3 separate regions of the Homo sapiens genome follow, and all the other regions are linked to region 1. Evidence: promoter capture Hi-C in human tissues and cell types (Jung and others, 2019). All regions are on one chromosome and are shown on one strand. The core of a region is centred on a gene start or on the middle of the fragment in contact, and the rest is flanking DNA. Distances in the headings are between cores, read along the strand shown. Region 1 holds the start of CBX1 (chromobox 1). Region 2 overlaps SKAP1 (src kinase associated phosphoprotein 1). Region 3 overlaps SKAP1 (src kinase associated phosphoprotein 1).

Region 1 (4,264 bases), core at 1,234-3,733:
GGTATCCTGTATTCAGAAATGCAGAAGACCAGGGTAACTTACTTACCACTAGGCTTCTATTTACATTCAAAACTATTTATTTCACACACCATCTATCTACCTATCATCTATCTTTTCTTTTTTTTGAGACAGAGTCTCGCTCTGTTGCCCGGGCTGGAGTGCAGTGGTGCAGATCTCGGCTCACTGCAACCTCTGCCTCCCGGGTTCAAGCGATTCTCCTGCCTCAGCCTCCCGAGTAGCTGGGACTACAGGCATGCGCCACTAGGCCCAGCTAATTTTGTATTTTTAGTAGAGACAGGGTTTCACCATGTTGGTTGGCCAGGATGGTCTCGATCTCTTGACCTCATGATCCGCCCACCTCAGACTCCCAAAGTGCTGGGATGACAGGCTTGAGCCACTGCGCCCGACCCTACTATTTATTTTTTTAATGAGAAACAATTTAGGATACAGCAGCCATTGAAGAAAAATATCACCACAGGGAAAACCGTAAACGACTTCAGGTCCTCCACTCCCGTGAAGCTTCATTAAGGTGCCACCGGTTTCAATACAAGTGCTTTTCAATCACACCACTTTCATATAAAAGTCTATAAGGCACCTAGGGAGGAACACCGGCATTAATTTCCCCATTGTATTCCTGAATCTATTCCAAAGCCTTGGACCTTTCACAATCTTTCCAAACTGCTGATGTGACTCTTAACACAATTGAGGAGGCTACTTTACCCTGGGCTAGGGGTTCTAGTATATAACTGATTATAGCTGAACTTTTTGTAAATTCCACCTCAATTGCGTTAAACCAACACGTCTAAATGTAACACCAATTTATGAAAAACCCTCATTTGAAACTTTGAAAAAGAGGTAAAATATGGCCAGGCGCAGTGGCTCACGCCTATAATCCCAGCACTTTGGGAGGCCGACGCGGGAGGATCACGAGGTCAGGAGTTCGAGACCAGCGTGACCAGTACGGTGAAACCCCGTCTCTACTAAAAATACAAAAATTAGCCGGGCGTGGTGGCGTGTGCCTGTAATCCCAGCTAGTCGGGAGGCTGAGGCAAGAGAATCGCATGAATCCGGGAGGTGGAGGTTGCAGTGAGCCAAGATCGCACCACTGCACTCCAGCCTGGGCAACAGAGGAAGACTCTTCTCAAAAAAAAAAAAAAAAAGAGGTAAAATATAGCTCACTCTATTCAAATTTTCCAACAAGGAAAAGCTGGCTAAAAACAGAAGGGCCCACGAAACAAATATTACCTCACAATCTCACATAATTTTCCTATGTCTCCCAATTTCTCGCACCTCACACGATCTCACAATCTCTCACTACCTCACGCCGTTCCTCAACTATTAACTCATCTACATATTTTTACAATTTCATCACCTTTGTGAGACCAGTTACGATCCCACACAAAAACGTACGGAACTAATTTTGAATCAAAGCAAGAACTGCACTTGGACTTTTTTAACTCCCCAAAGGAATCATGGAGTGAAGGTAGTAGGAAACCTGGAAAACTGAAAAAAGCGTATTCCATCCTTTCTTCGCACATTATTCTTACAGCCTCCCCACTGTAAGGACCCATCAGGATGCAAGGGCGGCCTGCTTTCCCCTTTTTTCTTACATACCTTATAGAAATATTCTCGGGATCTCCGCCCTACTTATCCTAACAGCTCCTCCCCTTCCAGAGTCAGGCCCAGCAAACGCCTGCCCCTCCCCCTCCGTGTCCCCTTTCCCAATTTATTCCACACATCTCCTCCTCCAATCAGCACACCTTGTGCGGCCCTGGGCCCTCTTCCAATTCACTCGACGTTACTCCTCCGTAGTCCTGCAAAGCCAGGTTCCTCTGGCAGTCCCAGCCGGACCCGGCGTCTTCCGAATACAGTTACAAACCTCGGGTTGTGCGGTCGTATGCGCCTCCTCACGCCTATCCAAGCCTCAAGCCTGTCCCCTTCCGCCCTATCCCGCAGCCGCCCAGCCAAGCAACATTGTTCCAGACCACCCGGGCCCCGAAGAGCGGCCCCCAAGTGCTCGGCCCACCCCCAAGCACTCAGTCTCTGGCTCAGGATTCGCGCCCCGCCCTCTCCATCCTTCACGCAGCTGGCACCGACGCCTCAGCGACAGGCGAAGAGCTCAGCGCGGGAAGCGGAGAAGCAGGACGCTGGACCCGGGCGCGCTCCCCGCTCCTAACCTCCGCCTCGAAAGCGCGTTCCCTCACGCAGGGCTCCCGCCGCCGCCGCCGCCGCGCCCCCTCCCCCAGCTCTCCCGCCTCCAGCGGGCTCCTCACCTCAGAGCAGCGCCCAAGAGCCCGAGAGGAATCGGTGCTGCGCTGCTGGCGCGTCGCGTCGGGTCGCCTGGGGGAGTGGCGCCCAGGAAGGCAGCAAGCCGGGTGGCCGCAGTGGCGTCCCTCACTGAAGCGGCGTACCGCAGGCCCCGGCCAACGGCCCTCCCCTCAGCCGAACAAAAGAGCCTCGCAGTCTGCGCTGCCCGCCGCTCGCACCGCGCAGGCGCAACGACCCGCCGCACGGCACCATGGGCCTCGGGGGTCTGTCCAAGACTACAAGGCCCGAAGCGCCGCGCGCCGCGCACGCACAGTAGGCGAGGGTGGTAGGGACTTATAGTTTTTAAACTGTAACGGTGGAGAGATTGCAGCGTAGAGCGTTGTAACCTAGAATATTAGAACATATGGGCCAGGGGCAGTCGCTCACGCCTGTCATCCCAGCACTTTGGGAGGCCGAGGCGGGTGGATCACCTGAGGTCAGGGGTTCGAGACCAGTCTTACCAACAAGGTGAAACCCTGTCTCTACTAAAAATGCAAAAATTAGCCGAGCGTGGTGGCAGGTGCCTGTAGTCCCAGCTACTCAGGAGGCTGAGACAAGAATTGCTTGAACTTGGGAGGCGGAGCTTGCAGTGAGCCGAGATCCAGCCACTGCGATCCAGCCTGGGCGATGGAGCGAGACTCCATCTCAAAAAAAAAAAAAAAAAAAAATTAGAACATATGATTTTTATAAGCGAGCCCCCTGATGCTTGGCCCCCAAAAAATCAACCACTTCTGGACAGTTCTGTAATTCACATCCTCAAAATTTTTGAATCTTAGATTCTTCACCAGAACTTTATCATATCGCCGCTGCCTCAAATTTCCAATGATTTCTTAGTCCTCAATCTCTGCCTCCTCAAATCTCTGTAAAATTCCTACTCACGCCGGCACGGTGGCTCAAGCCTATAATCCCAACACTTGGGGAGGCGGAGGTGGGTGGATCACTTGAGGTCAGGGTTTCAAGACCAGCCTGGCCAACATGGTGAAACCCCATCTCTACTAAAATACAAAAATTAGCTGGGCGTCGTGGCGGGCGCCTGTAGTGCCAGCTACTCGGGAGGCTGAGGGAGGAGAATCGCTTGAACCCAGGAGGTGGAGGTTACAGTGAGCCGAGATCGCGCCATTGCACTCCAGCCTGGGCAACAAGAGCGAAACTTCGTCTAAAAAAAAAAATACTGTTCAGTGTTAAGATTACTTCCCCTTTGAGGTCTTCCCTGATTCCCTAGAGTAGGTTAGGTCCCCCCATAGGCCTCTCATAGCTTCCTGAATTTCCCCCTTTTCACTGGCTGCGCCACAAAAATGTCCTCTTTTTCATTGTAAGTTGTGCTCACCTTTTTCAGTGTCATTAATCTCCGTCAGCACCTTTCACCCAATCATCCCAAGGAAACACACAATTAGGAAAAAAACATGTTTTTAAGCCACAATATAACTAAAGTTTTATTTTTTTATTTTAAAGTATCCTTCTAATCAGGAGGAAGAGGGAAACTCTATTGCACTCTACCCCAAAAGGCAAGAGTTTGCATTTATAAGACAGTTTTGCTGATGCAGGCACTGTTCAGGGCAGGAGTTTGCATTTATAAGACAGTTTTGCTGATGCAGGCACTGTTCACGGCTCTGGAGAACTGTCATGTAAGAAAAACCCAGCCCAGCAATATCATAATAGAGTTTAGTTAAAAGGGCTTCAAGAAAGCACAGAGAAGATGAGAGGTGAAGCCAGCTGGACTTCCTGGGTCGAGTGGGGACTTGGAGAACTTTTCTGTCTTACAAGAGGATTGTGAAATGCACCAATCAGCGCTCTATACCTAGCAAGGGGATTGTAAAATATACCAATCAGCACTCTGTAAAAACACACCAATCAGCCCTCTGTAGCTAGCAAGAGGATTGTAAAATGCACCAATCAGCACTCTGCAAAATGCACCAATCAGCGCTCTGTAAAATGCAGGAATCTAAAAGTAGCCAAT
Region 2 (4,264 bases), core at 464-2,963, 300 kb after region 1:
GTTACTAAGTCTCCAGGTATGTAACTAAGCCTAAACTTATCTATTAATAAAATAACATTATGGAGAACTTTGTTTTAAACACTCTTTCAACCTACCAAAAATTATAGATATTCCCACTTTTTCAAAAAACTCCCATCTTTTGCATTCTGTTTGTTTCAATTATTCAGGGCAACCCAGGCTGATAATTACACAGTCCCCAGTTGCTGAGTAAAAGTGATGCTTAATTAGCCAGCAGGAAAGATCGATTAAGATCCAGCAGGGCATCTCATGAGGTTCTCTCACATTCCTGAATGGAATAGATTCTGGCTGTGCCCTTCCGAAGGATAAAATTCTCTGCTTCTATGGAGTTTCAATGAGGTTTTTAGAGCAGATACTAAGAACTGTCAGCCACGCAAATTAAATCCCAACCATAACCCTGCAGATGCTCTTCCTTTTCTAAGAATATTCAGTTTAAACATTCTGAATCACATTGCCACCAGGTTTGAAAAGGCTAAAGGAACACTCACTTATCCCTTGTTCTCATTCAGTTACCCATTTCAAGCAATAGGTGGTCAGAAAATATATTATAAAGGAAAATTTTTATTTTTTCCCCAAGCAAGTGTTTGCATCTCTCAGATGCTCACATTCTAAAATGCACAAATTACATCAGGGCCTCTTATTTTTAAAAAATGACATAATATTTCAACCCAGTCCAGGAATAAAACATCCCAATGTAGTCAAAGAATCAACTTGATAAGTCTCATTTAAGTTTTCTATGAGGTAAGGAGATGTGGAAGTAAAATCAGTACCAAAAATCATAATGAACATTATCTCATACTGCCTAACACTTTCTCGTTAATAATTTGGACAAGCATAAATGTTTAGCTTTCACCATTTTTTTAGTTAAATGCAAAAGTGGTCAATAAAGGCTAACATAAAAATCCAAAGCTAAAAGCAGAATAATTACCTCAAGATACATACATAATTATCAAAACATTTTTATTTTGGTAAACTACACTAACTATGCTTGCCTGCCTCCAGTTCAATTCAGTAAATATTTATTAAGTTTCTGCCAAGTATAAAGAACTATGATAGGTATGTCTTACCTTGTGACTTTATTTTACTGATTATAAATTGTTTTAAAGCTTATGAAGAAGATTAATGGAACCAGTTTATACAAACCTGGCTTTGATTTGCTGAAAGCCCCGTAGAATATGGTCTCTGTGATCCCTTGCAACAGCGCTGAGGTTCTCATTCCGCAAACCTTCTGCCAGAAACTCTTCAGCATCTAAAAGAAAAGGAAAGTTGATAAAACAGAAAAGATGTACTAAGGGAGAAAGGAAAATCAGAAGGATTAAGAAATGGCACATGTATACATATGTAACTAACCTGCACAATGTGCACATGTACCCTAAAACTTAAAGTATAATAAAAAAAAAAAAACTTTATAGTTGTGGCACAATGTGAATGTGCTTAATGCCACAGAACTGTATACTTTATAATAGTTAAGATGGTAAAATTTATATTTTGTATATGTTACCAGAATAAATAATAACTAAAATTTTATATATACCTGTAGGTAACATGTTCTAATAATCCAAGACCTTGCTATGAATTTAGAAAACTATGACATATATTAGCCATAAGAAATAACTATTTTCTAAATCATTTTAAGTAAACATTTACATATTAATTATTACTGATGGCAGAGAATGGACTGTAAATTTCTTTCTTTCTTTTAGGGGGGGGATGGAGTCTCACTCTGTTGCCCAGGTTGGAGTGCAGTGGCGTCATCTTGGCTCACTGCAACCTTCACCTCCCAAGTTCAAGTGATTCTCCTGCTTCAGCCTCCTGAGTAGCTGGGACTACAGGCGCATGCCGCCAAGCCCGGCTAATTTTTCGTATTTTAGTAGAGATGGGTTTTCATCATGTTGCCCAGGCTGGTTTCGAACTCCTGAGCTCAGACAATCAGCCTGCCTCGGCCTCCCCAACTGCTGGGATTACAGGCGTGAGCCACCGCGCCCGGCCTGGACTGTCAATTTCATAAACATGTAATATTATAAATAAGTCACAGAAGGTCACAGGCCAATAGAAGCTAGAAAGAAATACCAATAAATAGAGCCGAAATAAAAAATAGAGCTGAACTGCAAAAATCAAGAACAAAAGGGCAGGCATTCAAAGAAATATTAATTAGCAGATGCATCATCAATGAAAATGACAATACAACCAAGTGAAGGAACCCACATGAGAAAGACAAATGTCTCCAAGAGAAGGGAACTGCAATTAATGTGAACATATATTATAAAATAGGGACATGATAGAAATACATAATATGAAACAAATCATGTTATGTTGAAGGAAGAAATTGCAGAGGGGGGGTGGTTCTACAAATTTTCAAAGACAAAATACATTGATAATGATTACAACTGCCAGAAACACTGGCTACACATTTTATTCTGCACAAAAGGTTTGTCATCCCCCAAAAGCGTATAAATAATATAGTTAAAATTTTCCACCTCCAAAAATTGTGCGTGTAATATGAAACTGTATCATATATATCAGGAGTCCCCAACCCCTGGGCCACACACAGGAACCTTTATTTCCTCAGTGATCTGATAATTATGAAATTTTAAAGAAAGGGCCACATGGCAGGAGGTGAGCAGCAGATGAGCAAGTGAAGCTTCATCTGTATTTACAGCTGGTCCCCATCACTTGCATTACCACCTGAGCTCCAGCTCCTGTCAGATCAGTGGCAGCATTAGATCCTTATAGGAGCACAAACCCTATTGTGAACTGTGTATGTGAGGGATCTAGGTTGTGTGCTCCTTATGAGAATTAATGCCTGACGATCTGTCACTGACTCCTGTCACTCCCAGATGGGACCATCTAGTTGCAGAAAAACAAGCTCAAGCCTCCCACTGATTCTACATTATGGTGAGTTGTATAATTTTTTCATTATATATTACAATGTAATCATAATAGAAATAAAGTGCATAATAAATCTAATGCTCTTTAATCATCGCCAAACCATCCCCCCACCCCCGGTCCATGGAAAAATTGTCTTCCATGAAACCAGTCCCCAGTGCCAAAAAGGTTGGGGACCCCTGATACATACTATCAAAATATTGCTATGAATTTATATAGTTGGATAAGCACACCTAAAAATTTGTTTTATATTCACGTCATTTAACAACGCCAGGCCGGGCGTGGTGGCTCACGCCTGTAATCTCAGCACTTTGGGAGGCCAAGGCGGGTGGCTCACGCCTGTAATCCCAGCACTTTGGGAGGCCAAGGCGGGCGGATCATGAGGTCAGGAGATTGAGACCATCCTGGCCAACATGGTGAAACCCCCCGTCTCTCTAAAAATACAAAAATTAGCTGGGCATGCTGGCACACCCCTGTAGACCCAGCTACTTGGGAGGCTGAGGCAGGAGAATCACTTGAACCAGGGAGTTGGAGGTTGCAGTGAGCTGAGATTGCATCACTGCACTACAGCCTGGAGACAGAGCAAGACTCCGTCTCAAAAAGAAACAAACAAACAAACAAAAAAAACCACCAAACAAAAAATCCTAAATAGCCATCGCTAGGACTTTTGATGAGATACAAAGTCCTGGAAATTGAATATTTCACAAAGGACCACCATCAACATCCAAGCTCTGCATTGTATCTATTGCATATGTGATTTAATGGGTTCCACTAGGGTCCTTTGAATGCTAACGAATGAGGAAATGGGAAGCTGAATTAAAAGGCAAAAATAAATGACATCTAAGATTCAATTTATGTAATATATCATAACAATAGAATAAAGGAAAAAAACCACATGATCATCTCACTAGACACAGAAGAAGCATTTAACAAAAGTCAACAGCCTTTCGTGATAAAAATTCTCAACAAACTAGGAATAGAAGGAAGCTTCCTCAAACTAATAAAAAGCATCAACACAAACCCACAGCTAACATTGTACTTAATGATTAAAGACTGGCCAGTCATGGTGGCTCGTGCCTGTAATCCCAACCTTTTGGGAGGCCGAGGCAAGAGGATCACTTAAGGGCAGAAGTTTTGAGACTAGCCTAGATGATATAGAGAGATTCCATCTCTACAAAAGATAATTTTTAAAAAATTGGCTGGGCATTGTGGTGCATGCCTGTAGTCCTAGCTACTCAAGAGGTTCAAGTGGGAGGATCACTTGAGCCTGGAAGGTTGAGGCTGCAGTGAGCCATGACTGTGCCACTCCAGCCTGGGTGGCAGAGCAAGACTCTTGTCTCAAAAAAAAAAAAAAATTAAA
Region 3 (4,264 bases), core at 535-3,034, 270 kb after region 1:
TTCTTTAATCTTCTCTTTGAAGCTTCAGCTTCAATAGGAAAGGGAAGCTATCACTCCTCTGCAATATCCATACTCAATATCATCAGGACGATGCAAATGATATTTGGAACTGAAAAATGATGAGTACAGAACGAGCAGAGAGAGAATGTTGCAACCATATTGATGATGATCATTTTTACATTCAGTAAAAATAAACCCATCTTCACTTATGCCTCCAAAAGTGAAAATGGAAGAATAAAATTTCACAATATTTTCTCTAAGCTACAGAACAGTCTTAAAATTTTAGTATTAAATTGTAGAGTATGCTATTTGTGTTTTCAAATTAAAGATGTTTTGGCCAGGCACTGTGGCTTGCGCCTGTAATCCCAGCACTTTCGGAGGTCATAAGTTCAAGAGCAGCCTGACCAACATGGTGAAACCCTGTTTCTACTAAAAATACAAAAAAATTAGCTGGGCGTAGTGGCGCATGCCTGTAATCTCAGCTACTTGGGAGTCGGAGGCAGGAGGATCACTTGAACTCAGGAGGCAGAGGTTGCAGTGAGCCGAGATCGCGCCATGCACTCCAGCCTTGGCAACAGAGACAGACTCCATCTCAAAATAAATAAATAAATAAATAAATAAATAAATATAAAATAAAGATGTTTTAACTGAACTTTAGGTCAGATGCAGTGGCTCACACCTGTAATCCAAGCACTAAGAGAGGCCAAGGTGGGTATATTGCTTGAGCCCTGGAGTTTGAGTCCAGCCTAGACAACATGGCAAAACCCTGTCTCTACAAAAAGTACAAAGATTAGCTGGGTGTGGTGGTGTGCACCTGCAGTCCCAGTTACTGAGGAGGCTGAGGTGGGAGGATTGCATGAGCCTGCGAGGTTGAGGCTACAGTGAGCCATGATTGCACCACTGCACTCCAGCCTGGGCAACAGAGTGAGACCCTCTCTCAAAAAAAAAAAAAAGTAAAAAATAAAAAATGAACTTTAGTTTGGAGAAAGGTACAAATAAATTGAACCCACAGTATTGAGGGAATCTTGATAAGCAGCAGTCACTGTAGTAGTAATAACAGTAGTGCTAATAACAATGCTAAGATTTATTGAACATTTTGTTGGATGTTGCTCTAAGCACTTTTCTTACATTAACCCATTTCCTCACACTCTAACCCTATTATTATGCCCATTTTCTAAATAAGAAAACTGAGGCATCAAGGATTAAATAACTTACCCATCATAAGAAAGCTAATGGACAAGTGGACAAGTTTCCACCACCAACAATCAGTTTCAGAACAGGACCTCTAATGAGAAACTAAGGAGGAAAGTCTTGAAAATATAATCTAACAATTAAAACAATCATCAAAATTAACTGAGTCTTTCTCTAAAGATATTTTACTATTCTAAAATAATTCAGTGACTCAGTCAACCAATTCAATATTTATTGAATGTCTTCTATGACAAGCCCTTTGCCCAGGTACTATGGATGAAATGATGACTATAATAGATATGATTCGTCTACAGATATATTTCAGTATCTTTCATACTGCAAACACACAGTTCTAGGTTGCCACCCCAAATTCACAGAGTCTATAAAGAACTTAATCGGACAAGTAAAAAACAACGCCATTAAAAAGTTTGCAAAAAGCATGAACAGACACTTCTTAAGAGAAGACACACAAGTGGCCAACGAATATATTAAAATGCTCAACATTACTAATCATCAGAGAAATGCAAATCAAAACCATCTCACACCAATCAGAATGGCTATCATTATTATTATATTTTTTTGAAACAGGGTCTCGCCCTGTCACCTATGCTGGAGTGCTGTGGCGTGATCATGGCTTACTGCAGCCTCAACTTCCTGGGCTCAAGCAATCCTCCCCACCTCAGCCTCCCAGTAGCTGGGAGCAGCACGTGCCATCACACCTGGCTAATTATTGTATTTTTTGTAGAGACAAGGTTTCTCAATGTTGCCCTAGGCTGGTCTCAAACTGCTGAGCTCAAGCCCGCCTCAGCCACCCAAAGTGCTCGGATTACAAGCGTGAGCCACCACACCTGGCCAGAATGGTTATTATTAAGAAGTCAAGAAACAACAGGTGCTGGTGAGGCTGTGGAGAAAAGGAACACTTATACATTGTTGGTGGGAATGTAAATTAGTTTAGCTGCTGTGGAAAGCAGTTTGGAGATTTATCAAAGAACTTAAAACAGAACTACCATTCAACCCCGTAATCCCATTACTGGGTATATATCCAAAAGAAAATAAATCATTCTACCAAAAAGACATATGCACTTGTAGGTTCATCACAGTGCTATTCATAATAGCAAAGACATGGAATCAACCTAGGTGTCCATCAACAGTGGATTAGATTTTTTTAAATATGGCATATATACACCATGGACTATGATGCAGCCATAATAAACAATGAAATCACGTCCTTTTCAACAAGATGGATGCAGCTGGAGGCCATTATTCTAAGCAAATTAATGCAGAAACAGAAAACCAAATACTGCATGTTCTCACTTATAAGCGGGAGCTAAACATTAGGTACTTATGAACATAAAGGTGTGAGCAATAGATACTAGGGACTAATAGAGATGGGGAAAGAGAAAGAGGGGTAGGAGTTGAAAAATTATTGGGTACTATGCTCACTATTTGGGTGATGGGATCATTTGTATCCCAAGCTTCAGCATCACACTATATACCCTGTAACAAACCTGCACATGTACCCCCTGTGTCCAAAATAAAAGTTGAAATTGTAAAAAATAAACAATTCACAGAAAACATTGTCAGGCTTCTGCTGAAAATAGGGCTACTGAATCTAAATCAACAGATTGCAAGGGAGAGAATATCAGATTCTTGGCCATGGAGCTAACCAAAGAACATAGTTATTGAGATTAAAGTACTCAGAGCTTTATTCCCTCAGTCAGCTAATTAGATAGATCCTGATGAAACAGGTCAGACAAACAACTGTAGCTATCCTCATATTATTAGAAATACTGGTCAGGTGTGGTGGCTCACACCTGTAATCCCAGCACTTTGGGAGGCCAAGGCAGGTAGGTTGCTTGGATCCAGGAGTTCGGGACCAGCCATGGGTAACATGGTGAAACCTTGTCTCCACAAAAAAAAAAAAAAAAAAAAAAAAAAAAAAAAGCCAGGCATGGTGGTGCATGCATGCCTGTAGTCCCAGCTACTTGGGAGGCTGAAGTGGGAGGATCCCTTGAGCCTGTGAGGTTGAGGCAGCAGTGAGCCATGATCATACCACTGCACTCCAGCCTGGGTAACACAGCAAGACCCTGTCTCAAAAAAAAAAAGAAAAGAAAAAGAAAAAAAGAAAGGAAAAATAATTCTATTTCCCAATTATAAAAAAATGATTAACATTTATTAGCACTTACATGTTAGGCATTGTGCTAGATATACACATATACATATGCATATACATCATATATATTTTTTTGAGACAGAGTCTCACTCTGTCACCCAGGCTGGAGTGCAGTGCACAATCTCCATTCACTGCAACCTCTGCCTCCTGGGTTCACGCGATTCTCGTACCTCAGCCTCCTGAGTAGCTAGGATTACAAACGTGTGCCACCATACCCAGTTAATTTTTTATCTTTTAGTAGAGATGGGGTTTTCCCATGTTGGCAAGGTTGGTCTTGAGCTCCTTGCCTCAAGTGATTTACCCACCTCAGCCTCCCAAAGTGCTGGGATTACAGGCATGAGCCACCACGTCTGGCCCTGTGCTAGGTATATGTTTTACATGTGTTATTTTATTTATTTATTCATTTTTGAGACGGAGTTTTGCTCTTGTTGCCCAGGCTGGAGTGTAATGGTGCAGTCTTGGCTCACCGCAACCTCCGCCTCCCAGGTTCAAGTGATTCTCCTGCCTCAGCCTCCCGAGTAGCTGGGATTACAGTCATGTGCCACCATGCCCGGCTAATTTTGTATTTTTAGTAGACAGGGGTTTCTCCATGTTGGTTAGGCTGGTCTCGAACTCCTGACCTCAGGTGATTTGCCTGCCTTGGCCTCCCAAAGTGCTGGGATTACAGGCGTGAGCCACCATGCCCGGCACATGTATTATTTTATTTAATCTTCATAAAAACCCTAGGAGGTCAGTATTTTTTTAAGACAAGGTTGCATTCTGTCACATAGGCTGGAATGCAGTGGTGCAATCATAGCTTATTGTAAACTTGAACTCCTGGGCTCAAGCAATCTTCCTGCCTCAGCCTCCGAAGTAGCTGGGACTATAGGTGTGCACCACCACACCTGGCTAATTTCCTTT

The links. The method cuts DNA at HindIII sites, captures the fragments that hold promoters and counts their contacts. A contact is called where the count stands out against the background at its distance.
Region 2: a fragment that was not itself captured here is called in contact with the fragment with the promoter of CBX1 in region 1 in 2 of the 25 tissues and cell types used here (IMR-90 fibroblasts and mesenchymal stem cells).
Region 3: a fragment that was not itself captured here is called in contact with the fragment with the promoter of CBX1 in region 1 in 1 of the 25 tissues and cell types used here (mesendoderm cells).

The regions. Positions count from the first base shown.
Region 1 is chr17:48,098,995-48,103,258 of GRCh38, forward strand. It overlaps CBX1 (chromobox 1), which reads right to left and starts at 2,484. Exons shown (of 5, transcript NM_001127228.2): 1 at 2,274-2,484. RefSeq lists enhancers at 2,217-2,816, 2,643-2,902 and a silencer at 2,223-2,272. The HindIII fragment of the contact is 10,755 bases long and covers 1-4,264 here.
Region 2 is chr17:48,395,519-48,399,782 of GRCh38, forward strand. SKAP1 (src kinase associated phosphoprotein 1) reads right to left here. Exons shown (of 13, transcript NM_003726.4): 2 at 1,162-1,267. Among named protein-coding and RNA genes, the nearest start is that of SKAP1, 33 kb to the right of the region's middle. The HindIII fragment of the contact is 3,124 bases long and covers 152-3,275 here.
Region 3 is chr17:48,368,552-48,372,815 of GRCh38, forward strand. The region is part of intron 2 of SKAP1 (src kinase associated phosphoprotein 1); the gene reads right to left. Among named protein-coding and RNA genes, the nearest start is that of SKAP1, 60 kb to the right of the region's middle. RefSeq lists a silencer at 1-150. The HindIII fragment of the contact is 6,067 bases long and covers 1-4,264 here.